Linked DNA regions of Homo sapiens: region 2 is linked to region 1. The links are contacts of gene promoters, found by promoter capture Hi-C in blood cells and fetal thymus (Javierre and others, 2016). All regions are on one chromosome and are shown on one strand. The core of a region is centred on a gene start or on the middle of the fragment in contact, and the rest is flanking DNA. Distances in the headings are between cores, read along the strand shown. Region 1 holds the start of TRIAP1 (TP53 regulated inhibitor of apoptosis 1). Region 2 overlaps OASL (2'-5'-oligoadenylate synthetase like).

Evidence for each region. Contacts are between HindIII fragments. The CHiCAGO score rates a contact against its expected background, and 5 or more counts as called.
Region 2: a fragment that was not itself captured here is called in contact with the fragment with the promoter of TRIAP1 in region 1 in 1 of 17 cell types (M0 macrophages); the score reaches 5.2 in M0 macrophages.

The regions. Positions count from the first base shown.
Region 1 is chr12:120,443,290-120,451,131 of GRCh38, reverse strand. TRIAP1 (TP53 regulated inhibitor of apoptosis 1) reads left to right here and starts at 4,748. Exons shown (of 2, transcript NM_016399.3): 1 at 4,748-4,906; 2 at 6,177-7,168. The coding sequence starts at 4,760. The coding sequence ends at 6,260. It overlaps GATC (glutamyl-tRNA amidotransferase subunit C), which reads right to left and starts at 4,688. Exons shown (of 4, transcript NM_176818.3): 1 at 4,571-4,688; 2 at 4,303-4,475. The coding sequence starts at 4,651. It also overlaps the pseudogene RPL31P52. RefSeq lists enhancers at 3,873-4,718, 4,552-4,846, 4,444-4,993, 4,208-5,407, 4,719-5,566. The HindIII fragment of the contact is 13,544 bases long and covers 1-6,124 here.
Region 2 is chr12:121,013,632-121,021,473 of GRCh38, reverse strand. It overlaps OASL (2'-5'-oligoadenylate synthetase like), which reads left to right. Exons shown (of 6, transcript NM_003733.4): 6 at 416-2,363. The coding sequence ends at 913. It overlaps C12orf43 (chromosome 12 open reading frame 43), which reads left to right and starts at 4,987. Exons shown (of 6, transcript NM_022895.3): 1 at 4,987-5,144. The coding sequence starts at 5,000. RefSeq lists a silencer at 4,891-5,084 and enhancers at 4,812-5,321, 5,293-5,808. The HindIII fragment of the contact is 612 bases long and covers 2,980-3,591 here.

The DNA.
Region 1 (7,842 bases), core at 3,499-5,998:
TGCTCTGTCGCCCAGGCTGGAGTGCAGTGGCGTGATCTCAGCTCACTGCAACCTCCGCCTCCTGATTTCAAGCAATTCTCCTGCCTCAGCCTTCAGAGTAGCCGGGATTACAGGCATGCACCACCATGCCCGGCAAATTTTTGTATTTTTTAAGTAGAAACAGGGTTTCGCCATGTTGGCCAGGCTGGTCTCGAACTCCTGACCTAAAGTGATCTGCCTGCCTCGGCCTCCCAAAATGCTGGGATTACAGGAGTGAGCCATTATGCCCGGCCAAGTCAGGGCTTTTATAGCTAAGATGCCTACTACCTAAAACATTTAAGCAACTTGGCCTCCTGCAAAGAAGGATGGTGAGAAGAATGGCCATTATGCCATCAACTAGGTGGTGACCCAAGAGTACACCATTAATATTCACAAGTGTATCCATGGAGTGGGCTTCAAGAAGTGTGCCCCTCAGGCTCTTAAAGAGACCGGAAATTTGCAATGAAGGAGATAGAAAACTCCAGATATGTGTATTGATACCAGGCTCAACAAAGCTGTCTGGGCCAAAGTAGTAAGGAATGTCCATACTGTGTCCATGTGCAGTGGATGGTCCAGAAAACATAATGAGGTTAGAAATTCACCAAATAAGCTCTATACTTTGGTTATATACTTGTTACCACTTTCACAAATCTACAGTCAGTGTGGATGGGAACTAACTGCTGATCATCAAATACATCAAATGAAGTTATAAAAACTACAAAAAAATAAAAAATAAAAGGTTTAATACTTGTCTTCACTTTACATTCTGTGTGTTCAAAGCATTAAAGTCCTACAGATGTCACATTAAAATGATTAATGGGAATTATTAACCCAAACTGGTTTCCAAATTTATGAAAAACAGTACAGATCACTGAATACGAGGTTGAGATGCTAGCTACTGGATCCAAATTCCTCATCTTTTTTCACGACCTTTTCCCTTATTAATGATGGTTATATTTCTTTGTATTTACCCTCTAGATAACTTGGGGAAATTCTGATGACTCTGTGCTTCTAGTCCCTCCTTTCCTAGAGATATTAATAAAGAACACTGGGACCGGGCATGGTGGCTCATGCCTGTAATCCCAGCACTTTGGGAGGCCAAGGTGGGCAGATCACCTGAGGTCGGGAGTTTGAGACCAGCCTGACCAACATGGAGAAACCCTGTCTCTACTAAAAATACAAAATTAGCTGGGCGTGGTGGCGTGCACCTGTAATCCCAGCTACTTGGGAGGCTGAGGCAGGAGAATCGCTTGAACCTGGGAGGCAGAGGTTGTGGTGAGCTGAGATCGCGCCATTGCACTCCAGCCTGGGCAACGTGAGCAAAACTCTGTCTCTAAAAAAAAAAAAATTCATTAAACATTTACTGTGGCCGGGCACGGCAGCTCAAGGCTGTATTCCCAGCACTTTGGGAGGCTGAGGCAGGCAGATCACCTGAGGTCAGGAGTTCAAGACGAGCCTTGCCAACATGGTGAAACCCCTCTCTACTAAAAATACAAAAATTAACCAGGCATGGTGGTGCATGCCTGTAATCCCGGGTGCTCGGGAAGCTGAGGCAAGAGAATCTCAAACCCAGGAGGCAGAGGTTGCAGTGAGCCGAGATCACGCCACTGCCTCCAGCGTGGGCAACAGAGTGAGACTCCATCTCAAAAAAACAAAACAAAACAAAACAAAACACATTTACTGAATACTCAGTGCCAACCACTGAGAACATGATAAGGAAAAACAGACATGCTGTGGAAGGTGGGTGAGCAGGAGAGGGGCAGAGACTCAACACATCCCTTAAATAGATGTATAAACGCATGTATAAATCAGCCCTTTTGGATATCACGAGAGCCACAGGTAGAGAACCTAAGTATAGCCAGGCACAGTGGCTCACGCCTGTAATCAGCACCTTTGGGAGGCTGAGGTGGGCAGATCACGAGGTCAGGAGATCGAGACCATCTTGGCTACGGTGAAACCTCATCTCTACTAAAAATACAAAAAATTAGCCAGGCGTGGTAGTGGGCACTTGTAGACCCAGCTACTTGGGAGGCTGAGGCAGGAGAATGGCATGAACCCAGGAGGCGGAACTTGCAGTGAGCCAAGATCACGCCACTGCACTCCAGCCTCAGCGACAGAGCGAGACTCTTGTCTCAATTAAAAAAAAAAAAAAAGAACCTAAGTATAAAAGAATGAAGACTTGTGGCTCACGCCTATAATCCCAGCACTTTGGGAGGCCGAGGCGGGTGGACTGTGAGGTCATGAGTTCGAGACCAGCCTGGCCAACATGGTGAAACCCCGTCTCTATTAAAAATACAAAAATTAGCTGGGCGTGGTGGCGGGCGCCTGTAGTCCCAGCTACTCGGGAGGCTGAGGCAAGAGAATCACTTGAAACCGGAAGGTGGAGGTTGCAGTGAGCTGAGATTGCACCACTGTACTCCAGCCTGGGTGGAAGAGTGAAACTCCGTCTCAAAAAAAAAAAAAAAAAAAAAGGAATGGACTTTTTTGGCCAGTGCAGTGACTCATACCTGTAATCCCAGCACTTTGGGAGGCGAAGATGGGCGGATCACTTGAGGCCAGGGGTTCGAGACCAGCCTGGTCAACATGGTGAAACCCTGTCTCTACTAAAAATGCAAAAACTAGCTGAGTGTGGTGGCGGGTGCCTGTAATCCCAGCTACTCCGGAGGCTGAGGCACAAAAATCACTTGAACCTGGAGGGTGGAGGTTGCAGTGAGCCAAGATCATGCCACTGCACTCCAGCCTGGGTGATGGGGCAGGACTCCACCTCAAAAAAAAAAAAAAACTTTCTTGAGGAAGTGGGAGGCTGAGGCAGGAGGATTGCTTGAGACCAGGAGTTTGAGACCATATGGGGCAACATGGCAAGACCCCGTTTCTACAAAAATTTTAAGTATTAGCCAGGTGTGGTGGTGCACACCTATAGTCCCAGCTATTTGGGAGGCTGAGGCAGGAGGATCTCTTGAGTCTAGAAGTTTGCGACCAGCCTGGGCAACATAGTGAGACCCCGTCCCAAAGGAAAAAGAAAATTGCAAAGTAGAGAAGACATTTGAAAGAATCAAACACGGCCAGGTGCTGTGGCTCATGCCTGTAATCCCAGTACTTTAGGAGGCTGAGATGGGTGGATCACCTTTGCTCAGGAGTCCAGACAAGCCTGGGGAACATGGCAAAATCCCGTCTCTATCAAAAATACAAAAAATTAGCCAGGCCAAGTGGCACGCGCCTGTGGTCCTGTACTTGGGAGGCTGAGATGGGAGGCTCTCTTGAGTCTGGGAGGTGGACATTACAATGAGCTGAGATCATGCCACTGCACTCTAACCTGGGTGATAGAGTGAGACTCCATCTCAAAAACAAATAAAATAAAAATTCAAGGCAGGAATAAAACAGTAACTACATAATGAGCTCACATTTTAATAAAAGAGATATAACAAATGAACAAAAGTCCATTAAAATGTTAGGGAAAAAACCCAATAGGATGAGTTACTAACTAGAAGGGGAGAAGGGATTTGGAGTGGTTAGGAGAGCCCTTTCTGAGAAGATAAGCTGAGACCTGTGCCAAGAGGGAGGCAGCCATGCAAATACTGAGAGGAAGGAAAAAAACGAAGGGCCAGTGCAGAGATCTAGAGAGGAAAAGAACTTGTCTTGCTGGAGAAGCAGTCAAGGTAGCCAAGGAGAGTACTGAGAAGAGTACGTTGGAGTGAGTAGGTAGGGACTCTATGGAGTAGGGCCTTAAAGGCGATGATTAGGCCAGGCGCGGTGGCTCACACCTGTAATCCCAGCACTTTGGGAGGCCGAGGCGGGTGGATCACGGTCAGGAGTTCAAGACCAACCTGGCCAAGATGGTGAAACCACGTCTCTACTAAAAATACAAAAAAAATAAGCCGGGCCTGGTGGCAGTCGCCTGTAATCCCAGCTACTCGGGAGGCTGAGGCAGAGAATTGCTTGAACACGGGAGGCGGAGGTTGCAGTGAGCCGAGATCGAGCCACTGCACTCCAGCCTAGGCAACACAGCGAGACTCCGTCTCAAAAAAAAAAAAACAAAACAAACAAACAAAAAAAAAAACAAAGGCAGTGATTAGCAGTTCGGGTTTTGTTTCCACTTACACTAGCGAGAGCATCAGTAATGAACAAGGGGAAGAGTGAAGCCACTGACTCGCGAGGTGACTGTGGGCAAGTTCCTGAATCTTGCTAACACTCTTTAACCCCCTGGAAAACTGTTCGCTAATCGTCACATTAAACGGCTGCGAACGGGCCACGGTCAAGGCTTCGGGGCTGCAGCCGCGAGTTTACCTGTCCTCCAGGACCGATTCCATGGGCTCCACCCCGTCTGTGTCCACGGCGCGTAGCCGGTCGGCGAAGGCGATAGCTTTCTCCAGTCGCGCCACTGCCTCGCGGCTGCCGAAGTCCACAAGCGCTAGACGCTCCAGGTGCTCGATCACCGCAGCCGTGATCCGGCCACTGCCCTGGAGGAGGGATGAGGCGGGGAGTGTGGGTCACCGGCGCTCCGAAGTGCCTCCCGGCTTGCTCCGCCACCCGCCTAGATGGCCCTGGCCTTTACCTGAGGATCCGCCTTGGAGGTGAAGCCCTGGCGCCCGCCCAGAGGGGCCCGAAGGCCCAGCCACACCAACCGCGACCACATTTCTTCCTTCCTTGGCCCCCGCAGTGCGCCCGCGCGTAACGCCGAGCGACGCGCCTGAGAGTGATGACATCAGAGTGCGCCGTCGTCGCCGCCGCCACCACTGTCGCCATGAACAGTGTGGGGGAGGCATGCACGGACATGAAGCGCGAGTACGACCAGTGCTTCAATCGCTGGTTCGCCGAGAAATTTCTCAAGGGGGACAGCTCCGGGGACCCGTGCACCGACCTCTTCAAGCGCTACCAGCAGTGTGTTCAGGTGAGCCCTCCCGCCTCTGTTCCCAGGCCCTGCATTCTCGGCGCTGTGTCCCACCACACTCATCGTATTTTACGGGGATTGGGACTGGACTGGAAGGGTGGAGAAAAGTCGCAGTGAGGCCAGTGGCAGGAGCTCGCTCCCCTACCATCACCACCGAGGCCACTTGGGTGTCTCTCCGAATGACAAATATTGGGGCAGTGCTTTTCAAGAAGCACAGTCACATCCTTTGGTTCATTTGGTGTTCACCCTAAACTCGCAAGGTGGGCATAGTTACTCATATTTTATACATAAAAAACTAACACCCAGAAATAGGAAGTGATTAATCCGAGTTCACTAGCATCAGGTTTCCTTGGTTCTTTCGCAGGTGGTGCACTTTTCCACTATTACTGCTGGGGTCTGGGCGGGATTATACTTCAGAATTCAGACTGGAGGGTCACATTTTTTTGTTGTTATAAACCCTTCGTTAGCCTGTTTCTCTCTCTTGACCAGTCCCCGCAACTGCAGCCAGGAAATGTTTATTCTGGCCCAATGGATGTGGAACTGCTTTGAATTGTTAAGAACAGCACCGGGCAAAGCACTTCCAATAAGTTAACCCAACACATCCTCACAGCAATTCCCCGAGGTAGTTGCTGTCTTCATCCCATTTACAGTTAGTCACATAGCCAGTAAGTCCTGGAACCCAGATTTGAACCTAAGTCTTTCACTAACACAAAGTGATGATTATTTTTCAAATTTCACTTAATTTTAACGGTTCCCTCACAACTCCTTTTCCAGTCTCCCTCAGGTCTTACACTTGATTTATTCATTATGGTACTTCTGGTTTTTATTTATTTTTGAGGCAGAGTCTCACTCTGTCTCCCAGCCTGGAGTGCAATGGCACAATCTCAGCTCACTGCAACCTCCGCCTCCCAGGTTCAAGCTATTCTCATGCCTCAGCCACCCGAGTAGCTGGGCTTACAGGCATGCGCCACCATGCCCAGCTAATTTTTGTATTTTTAGTATAAACAGGGTCTCGCCATGTTGGCCAGGTTGGTCTCTAACTTCTGGCCTCAAGTGATCCACCTGCCTTGGTCTCCCAAAATGCTGCGATTATAGGCGTGAGCCACCACACCTGACCGGTACTTGTTTTTTAAAAAGTATGTGGTTTGAATCATGGTTATAAGTCTTTATAATCAGCTTGATTTTACTTTTGTACTGTCATATTTTATTTACAAAGCTTGCAACTTAAGCTTCATGTAGGTCTTTATAATGTGTTTTCTCCTCCTACCAGAAAGCAATAAAGGAGAAAGAGATTCCTATTGAAGGACTGGAGTTCATGGGCCATGGCAAAGAAAAGCCTGAAAATTCTTCTTGACCTTGACAGTCACCTTGAAGGATTTCGCAAGTCCAGAAATTGAGGACTCTGGATTTTTGTCAACTAACTCTGTGAACATAGCCATCAGATTTGATGAGGAACTTAGGAGAGAGGAGTTTTATTTCCTCCTTCGATGTTTTCCTCTCAGTTGTAAAAGATGAACTCTTTGAGATGATTTCTCACCTGCTGTGGTATCTTGCAGGAACTGTGTGCTAAAATTGAACAATTTTTTTGAGATTATGGTTGCAATACTTGGCGTGGAATCAGCTTTACATAAATATACCTTGTATGCAAACGATGATAAACTAGTCAGGATGAGCAGAGCTGCCTGACCTCTTGATTTCTGCTGCAAAAGACATATACACTGTACTGGGGTCACTATTTATGAAAGCAATTGGTTAGGACCTCTTTTTTTCCTCTCAGGGAACTAATGCTCTGAAAAGGGATCTGGGCACAACAGTTTCAGTGAGTGCTTTTGAGCACACTTTTATTTTTATATAGTAACTAATGGTTAAGATTGATGGTGGCCTGGATTAGCAAAGAGGAAGACAGCTTTTAACACAGTTCCCTGCCTTCACAAGAGGTGTCAGATTAAGATGTGAAAGCTGCAAGAATGTTGCAGTGAACACCATTTCAGAGCTCTCAGTGTGCAGTTCAGGAATTAAGATACTTGGAATAGCTGTGGAGGAAGAACCTAAATTGCAAAGATCTGCTATTGCCAGCTCTCAACCCAAGTCAGTGAATTGTCAACCTGCATATCCTAAAAATGTCAAAATGCTGCATCTGGTTAAATGTCGGGGTAGGGGGGAAGCTGAAGGTGCTCGCTTCATTTGCCTTGTTTACTCATCCTGCCCTGTAATGTCTGTAATCCTGAAGATGGAATAAATTGTAACATTTAGTTTCTATCATTATTTGCCTCTGGAACTCAGTGCATTTTATGGAACTATTACCCTGTTACCCTACAAACCTCATATATACAGTGGGGAGAGTTTTGTGTTTTGTAACTTAAAGGTGAAGAAAAAGTGACTTGTCTTAAGCTAGGTGGTACAGTATGGCAATCAGAAACCTCACATTTTTTTTTTTTGAGACAGTCTGGTTCTGTCACCCAGGCTGGAGTGCAGTGGCGCAATCTTGTCTTACTGCAAACTCCACCTCCTGGGTTCCAATGATTCTCCTGCCTCAGTCTCCCAAGTAGCTGGGATTACAGGCATGCATCACCATGCCCAGCTAGTTTTTGTATTTTTAGTAGAGATGGGGTTTCACCATGTTGGCTGGTCTTGAACTCTTGACCTCCCGAAGTGCTGGGATTACAGGCATGAGCCACCGCACCCAGCCAAAACCTCACTGATTTCTAAAATTTCCACAATAGGCTATACAAATACACTACGGTACCAAAAAAGGATCAGGAGAGCACTTACTTACCTCAGAATGTCACGTAATCCCCACAATTAATTGAGTAATTTGGTTTTATTAGATACCCAAAGTAGTATGAAACTTGAATTACAGGCCGGGTATGGTGGCTCATGCCTGTAGTCTTAACACTTTGGGAAGCTGGGATGGGCGGATCACTTGAGCTCAGGAA
Region 2 (7,842 bases), core at 2,036-4,535, 570 kb before region 1:
TTTCCAGGTGCTCTCCAGCCACCTGGGGCTCTCAGGCCCTGGAGTGTAGCCTCTGGAGGTGGTGAGAACACAGACTCTGGAGTCTGACCAACCTCACTTCACATATCTGCCCTGCTCCTTACTACCTATGTGATTGGTGTTCAGTAAATTACCTAACCCTGCTCAGTTTCCTCATCAATAACATGGGGGTAACAGTAGAACCAACCAACTAATAGAGATGCTCTGAGAATAAAATGCATTAAGGGTATGGAAGGTGCTCAGCATACAGCCTGGAAAGTGCTTACCACTCCCTAAACATTTGCTGCTGCCGCTGCTGCTGCTACTATTGTAAAGATAAGGACAGATGAAGGGAACATTTGCACATCAGACAAAGAAGTGTGGACTTAACACCTCTCCTTCTCCCTCTCCCTTCCAGAGGGCACGAGACATCCACTTGACAGTGGAGCAGAGGGGTTACCCAGATTTCAACCTCATCGTGAACCCTTATGAGCCCATAAGGAAGGTTAAAGAGAAAATCCGGAGGACCAGGGGCTACTCTGGCCTGCAGCGTCTGTCCTTCCAGGTTCCTGGCAGTGAGAGGCAGCTTCTCAGCAGCAGGTGCTCCTTAGCCAAATATGGGATCTTCTCCCACACTCACATCTATCTGCTGGAGACCATCCCCTCCGAGATCCAGGTCTTCGTGAAGAATCCTGATGGTGGGAGCTACGCCTATGCCATCAACCCCAACAGCTTCATCCTGGGTCTGAAGCAGCAGATTGAAGACCAGCAGGGGCTTCCTAAAAAGCAGCAGCAGCTGGAATTCCAAGGCCAAGTCCTGCAGGACTGGTTGGGTCTGGGGATCTATGGCATCCAAGACAGTGACACTCTCATCCTCTCGAAGAAGAAAGGAGAGGCTCTGTTTCCAGCCAGTTAGTTTTCTCTGGGAGACTTCTCTGTACATTTCTGCCATGTACTCCAGAACTCATCCTGTCAATCACTCTGTCCCATTGTCTACTGGGAAGGTCCCAGGTCTTCACCAGTTTTACAATGAGTTATCCCAGGCCAGACGTGGTAGCTCACACCTGTAATCCCAGAACTTTGGGAGGCCGAGGTGGGAGGAGCGCTTGAGCCGAGGAGTTCAAGACCAGCCTGGGTATCACAGGGAGACCCCGTCTCTACAAAATAAAAAAATAATTCACTGGGTGTGGTTGTGCACATTTGTAGTCTCAGGCACTCAAGAAGCTGAGGCAGAAGAATCACTTGAGCCCAGGAGGCTGAAGCTGCAGTGAGCTGTGATCACACCGCTACACTCCTGCCCAGGCCACAGAGCAAGACCCTGTGTCTAAAAACTAAAACATAAAAATAAGTAAATCCGTTTAAAAAAAGGATTATCCCAGCCCTGCCAGGGGGAGGATGAGGAGGGGTGTGAGGACTAAATATACAAATAAATAGTGTGGTCACATGACGCACAGCAACAGAATTCGGACCCACAGCCTTCTGCAGCAATCAACCCCAAACCATCAGGACTTGGGCGATAACTGGCAGCATCTCTAACTCCCCACCCTACTCCCATCCTGCTTCCTATTTATGACCAACCCAAGAAACCCAAATAAGCTCCCCAGACCAATCACATGGTTAGCCCCACTTCTGGTGAGTGCACTTCCAGCTTCCCCATACCAACAGCCTCAATCACGGCATCCCTGAAGCCTTCCCATTTTCCTGCCTGTCTTTAAATCTCTGTCAAAAGCGAGAGATGGGTGGCTGGTTCCTTTGCTATAGCAAGTTGGGAATAAATCGCCTTTGTTAGTTCTCATTTGGGGGCTGTTTATTTCCACAGGGCCTAATGCTGTCCTAATGGTTATTGCTTGATCATTTGAGCTTCTCAACTCTAAGAAATGAGGACTGGGGAAACTGAGGCAAAAAGAGACAAAGAATGGGAGATTGAGGATGATGCAGTGTAAAAAAAAATCACCTCAACTCCTAAAACCCATACACAAACAGTACATAATAGTCAGGAAACTGTAGGAAAGTAATAGCATCTTTATTATCAAAGGACGTCATGTGATCAGGTTTACTCCAAGCAATAAAAAGTTTCCTTTTGCCCCCCTGTTTTGCCTAGTTTTCTGGTGGGCTACTCTCCTACCATAGCATAGAAAATGCACACTGCAATTGGTTATCAACAGCCTCTGGTCAATTTAGCAATCATAATCTGTGTATCTCCCACCTCTGTTTGCCTTCAGGGACAGAAAAAGTGCCTCCTTTCCAGGAGGTAGACAGGCTGTTCCAGTCCCCATCTTTGTGTCCTTCATAATGCCCAGCACAGCCCACATTGTAGGTGGTGGGAAAATTCTTGTTTAAAATAAAAAAAAGAATGAAAAATGCAATGTCTTAGTCCATCTGGGCTGCTAAAACAAAATACCATACACTGGATGGCTCATGAACAATAACCATTTATTTCTTACAGCTCTGGAGGCTGGGAAGTCCAAGTCAAGACACTGGCAGATTTGGTGTCTGGTGAGGACCTCTTCCTGATTCACAGATGGCAGCTTCTCACTAAGTCTTCACATGGTAGAAGAGGCAAAGGTGTCTCTAGGATCGCTTCTTTTTTTTTTTTTTTTTTTTTTTGAGATGGAGTCTCGCTCTGTCACCCAGGCTAGAGTGCATTGGCATGATCTCAGCTCCCTGCAACCTCTGCCTCCGAGGTTCAAGCGATTCTCCTGCCTCAGCCTCCCGAGTAGCTGGGACTACAGGCACCTACCACTGTGCCCAGCTAATTTTTTTTTTATTTTTAGTAGAGACGGGGTTTCACCATCTTGGCCAGGCTAGTCTCGAACTCCTGACCTTGTGATCCACCTGTCTTGGCCTCCCACAGTGCTGGGATTACAGTTGTGAGCCACCATGCCTGGCCTCTGGGGTCTCTTTTATGAAGGCATTGATCCAGTTCATGAGGGCTCAGGACCCATTATGTAATTGAAAGATTCTCCGTGGGGCCTGAAAGCTTAAGAGAATGAATGACCCCTCCCTCCCCTCCCTCCTTGGGCCCGGTCCCAAGGCGCAAGGCCACTCGCGCCAGCAGCATGTGTCAGCAAGATAGCAGAAGCGGGAAGAGAGCGGGCCAGAAGACACCTACCCCCTGAAGACCGAGAGAGACGTCATCCGGGTACAATGTAGCGGTTACAACAGACTGAGAAACTTCCTGTTTACAGGAGACTACAAAACCCCTGCCCCGTCCTCATTTGGTGCTGACGCCATTTTAAGCCTCAGCCCACCTGCACACACACTGCCTCATGTTGTCTGTTGGCCACGCTCTTGGGGTTCGAACCAACACAAGACCCTTTCACTAATTACTTCCCAGAGGTCCCACCTCCTAATACCATCACCTTGGGAGTAAGGACTTTTTGGAAATTATCAGTATCAAAATGGAGTCACTTATGTCAAACCCTAACAAATGCCTGTCACAAAAATTATCTCAAGAAGTTCCTAAAATCCGCAGTATTATAGATAAACCACTTGCATAAGAATATTTGCCTAACAGTGGGTGTCTCCACAATAAGCTAAAGCCAACTCCTGCAACAGGCTCCTGTGATCAACGGTACTTGTTTTAAAGAAGCTTATGTGGACTTTGTCTTTTCTCGTTGCCACAACCTCTTTTAATGTGCCTATAGTCCACTATAGCATGCATATCTCAAATTGCAATTCCTTGCAATTCTGGAATAAACGCTTTATTTTGGAGAGTCAGTCTCTCTGTTATTTATTTTATGGTGTCAATTTTAACATATGAATTTTGGAGGAACACATTCAGACCATATCAGTCACCTTCCTCTTCTTTGAAATAGAAAAAGCTCAAGGCCAGAGAGTTTATTTTAGTAAAGTTTTGACATACCTGTCTTCAAAGATAAAACATGAAACAGCATTCCACACACAAAAGTAAAGTGATTTTGTTCATCCTTCACTGTGAGGTATTTTAACCACAGAGATTCTAATTTTTTGGTCTTGGATGGGTCCTGGGAGTCAGTATTGCCTGGCTAATTTTTGTATTTTTAGTAGAGATGGGGTTTCACCATGTTGGTCAGGCTAGTCTCGAACTCCTGACCTCATGATCTGCCCGCCTCGGCCTCACAAAGTGTTGGGATTACAGATGTGAGCCACCGTGCCCGGACAGGATTCTGCATTTCTCTTTTTTTTTTTTCGAGACAGAGTCTCAGTCTGTTGCCCAGGCTGGAGTGCAGTGGCACGATCTTGGCTCACCTCAACCTCCACCTCCCAGGTTCAAGTGATTTTCCTGCCTCAGCCTCCTGAGTAGCTGGGACTACAGGTGCGTGCCACCATGCCCAGCTAATTTTTGTATTTTTAGTAGAGATGGGGTTTCACTATGTTGGCCAGGCTGGTCTCGAACTCCTGACCTTGTGATCTGCCTGCCTCAGCCCCCCAAAGTGTTGGGATTACAGGCGTGAGCCACCGTGCCCAGCCTGGATTCTGCATTTCTAACGAGCTCCCAGGTGTTACCAATGCTGCTGGCTCATGGACTACACTCTTAAGTAGTAAGGCCCTAGGCTATTAAAGGAAATACAGATTCCTGGATTCCACCTATCAGAGATTCTGATTCTGTTAGTATTTTCTGTGAGACCCAAAAGTCTGCAGTTTAACCAGCTCTCTAAGGTGTTTCTTAGGCCCAGCTGGACTGGGAAATTACTAGAATAAATGACATGGAATCAAAACCTGGGAACTAATCCTGGGTCTGTCATTAACTCCTTAGGAGATTCCCATCCCCTCTGGAGATCTGTCATCAAGAAATGATTGGAGAAGTTAATCTCTTAGGCCCTTCTAGCTCTTGCCTTTGAGAACCGCCCACCTCCCCATTCCCACCTGGTATCCCCAACCCAGTACAGTTCATGGCCAATGGCGGTCCAAGTCTTGGAACTACAATCCCCACAATGCCTCGCGCCTCTCCTCTCACGTGACGTCATGAAGGAGGCTTGATAACGGCGGTGTTCTCCACAATCCTTTGCGGTGGTTCAAGATGGCGGCGCCCAGTGGCACAGTGAGCGATTCGGAAAGTAGTAACAGCAGTAGCGATGCGGAGGAGCTGGAGCGGTGCCGCGAGGCGGCAATGCCGGCTTGGGGCTTGGAGCAACGCCCGCACGTGGCAGGGAAGCCAAGAGCCGGTAGGGTACTATGTTTGGGGAGACTGGCTGAGGGGCGTGGGATCTTCCCCTGGAGCCTGAGAGGATGGATGGTGAGGAGAGAGTCACTGGGACTCGGCTTCCTTCCCCGAGAGACCTCCAGGGACTGGGTGTAGTGCAGATTGAAAGCATGGGCAGGTGCAGTAGGGAGGGTATTTCATTATTCCAGTCGGGGAAGCTGAGGTACCCAAATGTCTTTTGATTCTGCCTCCTTGGGTCTATCCTCACTGCCCCACACTGGGAAGGCTGCCGTCTCTTCGAGATAACTGCAACAGCCCCCTCCCGGTATTCTCGCACCCAGCCTTTCCCCACCTCCAACACATTCTCCCACCCTGGAGGTTGTTGCCAAGAGCAGTGCCCAGCACATCACTCTGACCGTGACTCCCTAGTGCCCTGGGAATAAATACAGAGCCCCGCAACATCAAGGGGCCTAATCATGGATAGAACCCAAGGGTTCTTGAATTTGGAATGAAAACATGTTGCATCTTTGCTTTCTATTCATCTCTGACTGAATTTTAGCATCTCTTTCCGTCTTGCAAGCACTAAGCCACAGTAGTTCTGGCAATGCCGTTACTTTATCCCAACAGAAGTCACAGATTTTCATATCTCATTACAATCTTTGCAGATACAGATATCAATATATCATTTTATTGATAAAAAGATATTGGGGAAAAAAGTCATTTACACTCATCCCTGATTTAAAATGTGCCACTCTAATTTTTAGACCCATCTCTATATCTAAGATGTAAGAAGCACATACATCACAAGTTTGGTTGTTTACTATCATGATAATTAAATTTCGGTATCATTGGTTTTCTTTGTAATCCTGTATGTTGCATTTCATGCATTTAAAACATTGCTCTGAGAAGAGAACCGGGCTTCACCAGGCTGTTAGAGAAGGCTATGGCAAAGCAAGGTTAAGAACCGCTGGATTTGTTTAAAAGGACTTACAAGCCCTTTGGTGATCCATTGCCTTCCTCTCCCTTCCTTCCCTCCTGCCATACTGCACTTCCTGTAGGTAGCTTCCAGACCATAGTCTGCCCCTCTCACCCCCTAGTACCATAACCACAGTTTTCTCTGCAAGTTCTATTTACAGATCTGCCTTTCCATCTCATTAGCGGTGGGAACTTGAGCAAAGTACTTAAATCTCACTGTACCTAAATTTCCTCATCTGTACAGTGCGGGTAGTGATAGTACCCACCCCATAAGGTTGAGAAGTAACTGAGATAATGCAATCTACAGTGCTTGGCACATCTTAAAGGCCCAATACATGGTGGCAAATATGTGGTTGGTCTTTCCACATGGACTGCTTTCCTCCTCCTGCCTAATTCTCGCTCTTTTTTTTTTCAAAACTAGGACTCAGTCTGTTACCGAGGCTGACACAATCATGGCTCACTGCAACCTCGACCTCCCCCTACTCAGATGATCCTCCCACCTCAGCCTCCCAAGTAGCTGAGACTACAGATGTATAGTCCCAGCTACTTTTTGTATTTTTTGTAGAGATGGGGTTTTGCCATGTTGCCCAGGCTGGTCTCGAACTCCTGGGCTCAAGTGATCCTCCCTTCTCAACCTTCAAAGTGCTGAGATTACAGGTGTGAGCCACTGTGCTCGGCTTCTAGTTTTTTTTGTTTGTTTGTTTGTTTTTTGGGGTTTTTTTTTTTTTTTTGCATTTTTTTTTTTTGAGATGGAGTTTCACTCTTGTTGCCCAGGCTGCAGTGCAATGGCACGATCTCAGCTCACTGCAACCTCTGCCTCCTGGGTTCAAGTGATTCTCCTGCCTCAGCCTCCCTAGTAGCTGGGATTACAGGCGCCTGCCACCACGCCCAGCTAATTTTTTGTATTTTTAGTACAGACAGGGTTTCACCGTGTTGGCCAGGCTGGTCTCAAACTCCAGACCTCAGGCAATCCACCTGCCTCGGCCTTCCAAAGTGCTGGGATTACAGGTGTGAGCCACCGCGCCTGGTCTCTTTTTTTCTTTTTGAGACGCAGTCTCGCTCTGTTACCAAGGCTGGAGTGCAATGGCGCGATCTTGGCTCCCTGCAACCTCCGCCTCCCAAGCTCAAGCAATTCTCCTGCCTCAGCCTCCTAAGTAGCTGGGATTACAGGTGCCCACCACCAGGCCCAGCTAATTTTTTTTTATATTTTTATTAGAGACAGGGTTTCACCGTGTTGGCCAGGCTGGTCTCGAACTTATGACCTCAGGTGATCCGCCCACCTTGGCCTCCCAAAGTGCTGAGATTACAGGCATGAGCCACCACACCCAGCCTAGATTACATTCTTGAGTGCGTCTAGTAATAGCCACCAGGAGTTGAGAATTTTCTTTTTGCCCCTGTTCTAAACACTTTGTATTTGTTGTCTGTTTTCATCTTCCCAGCAATGCCACAAGAGGGTGTATTAGCCCCATTTTACAGAAAACTGATTCTCATAATGGTAAAATAACTTGGCCAAGGTTGTCCAATTTGTGAGTGGCAGAACCAGGCGTAAACCCAGGCCTACCTGACTCCCAAGTCCATGCTCTTCATTGCTGCTGTGCCACTCTGCCATGGACAAGTGTCTATTGTGGTCAAAACTCCCACCCTTTGGTCCATGACTGTGGAAATATAGGTCACTATTTTATTTATGTAACCTCTAGAGACAGCTCTTAAATCCAGTGATGAACTCGTCACTCAAACCACTTTAA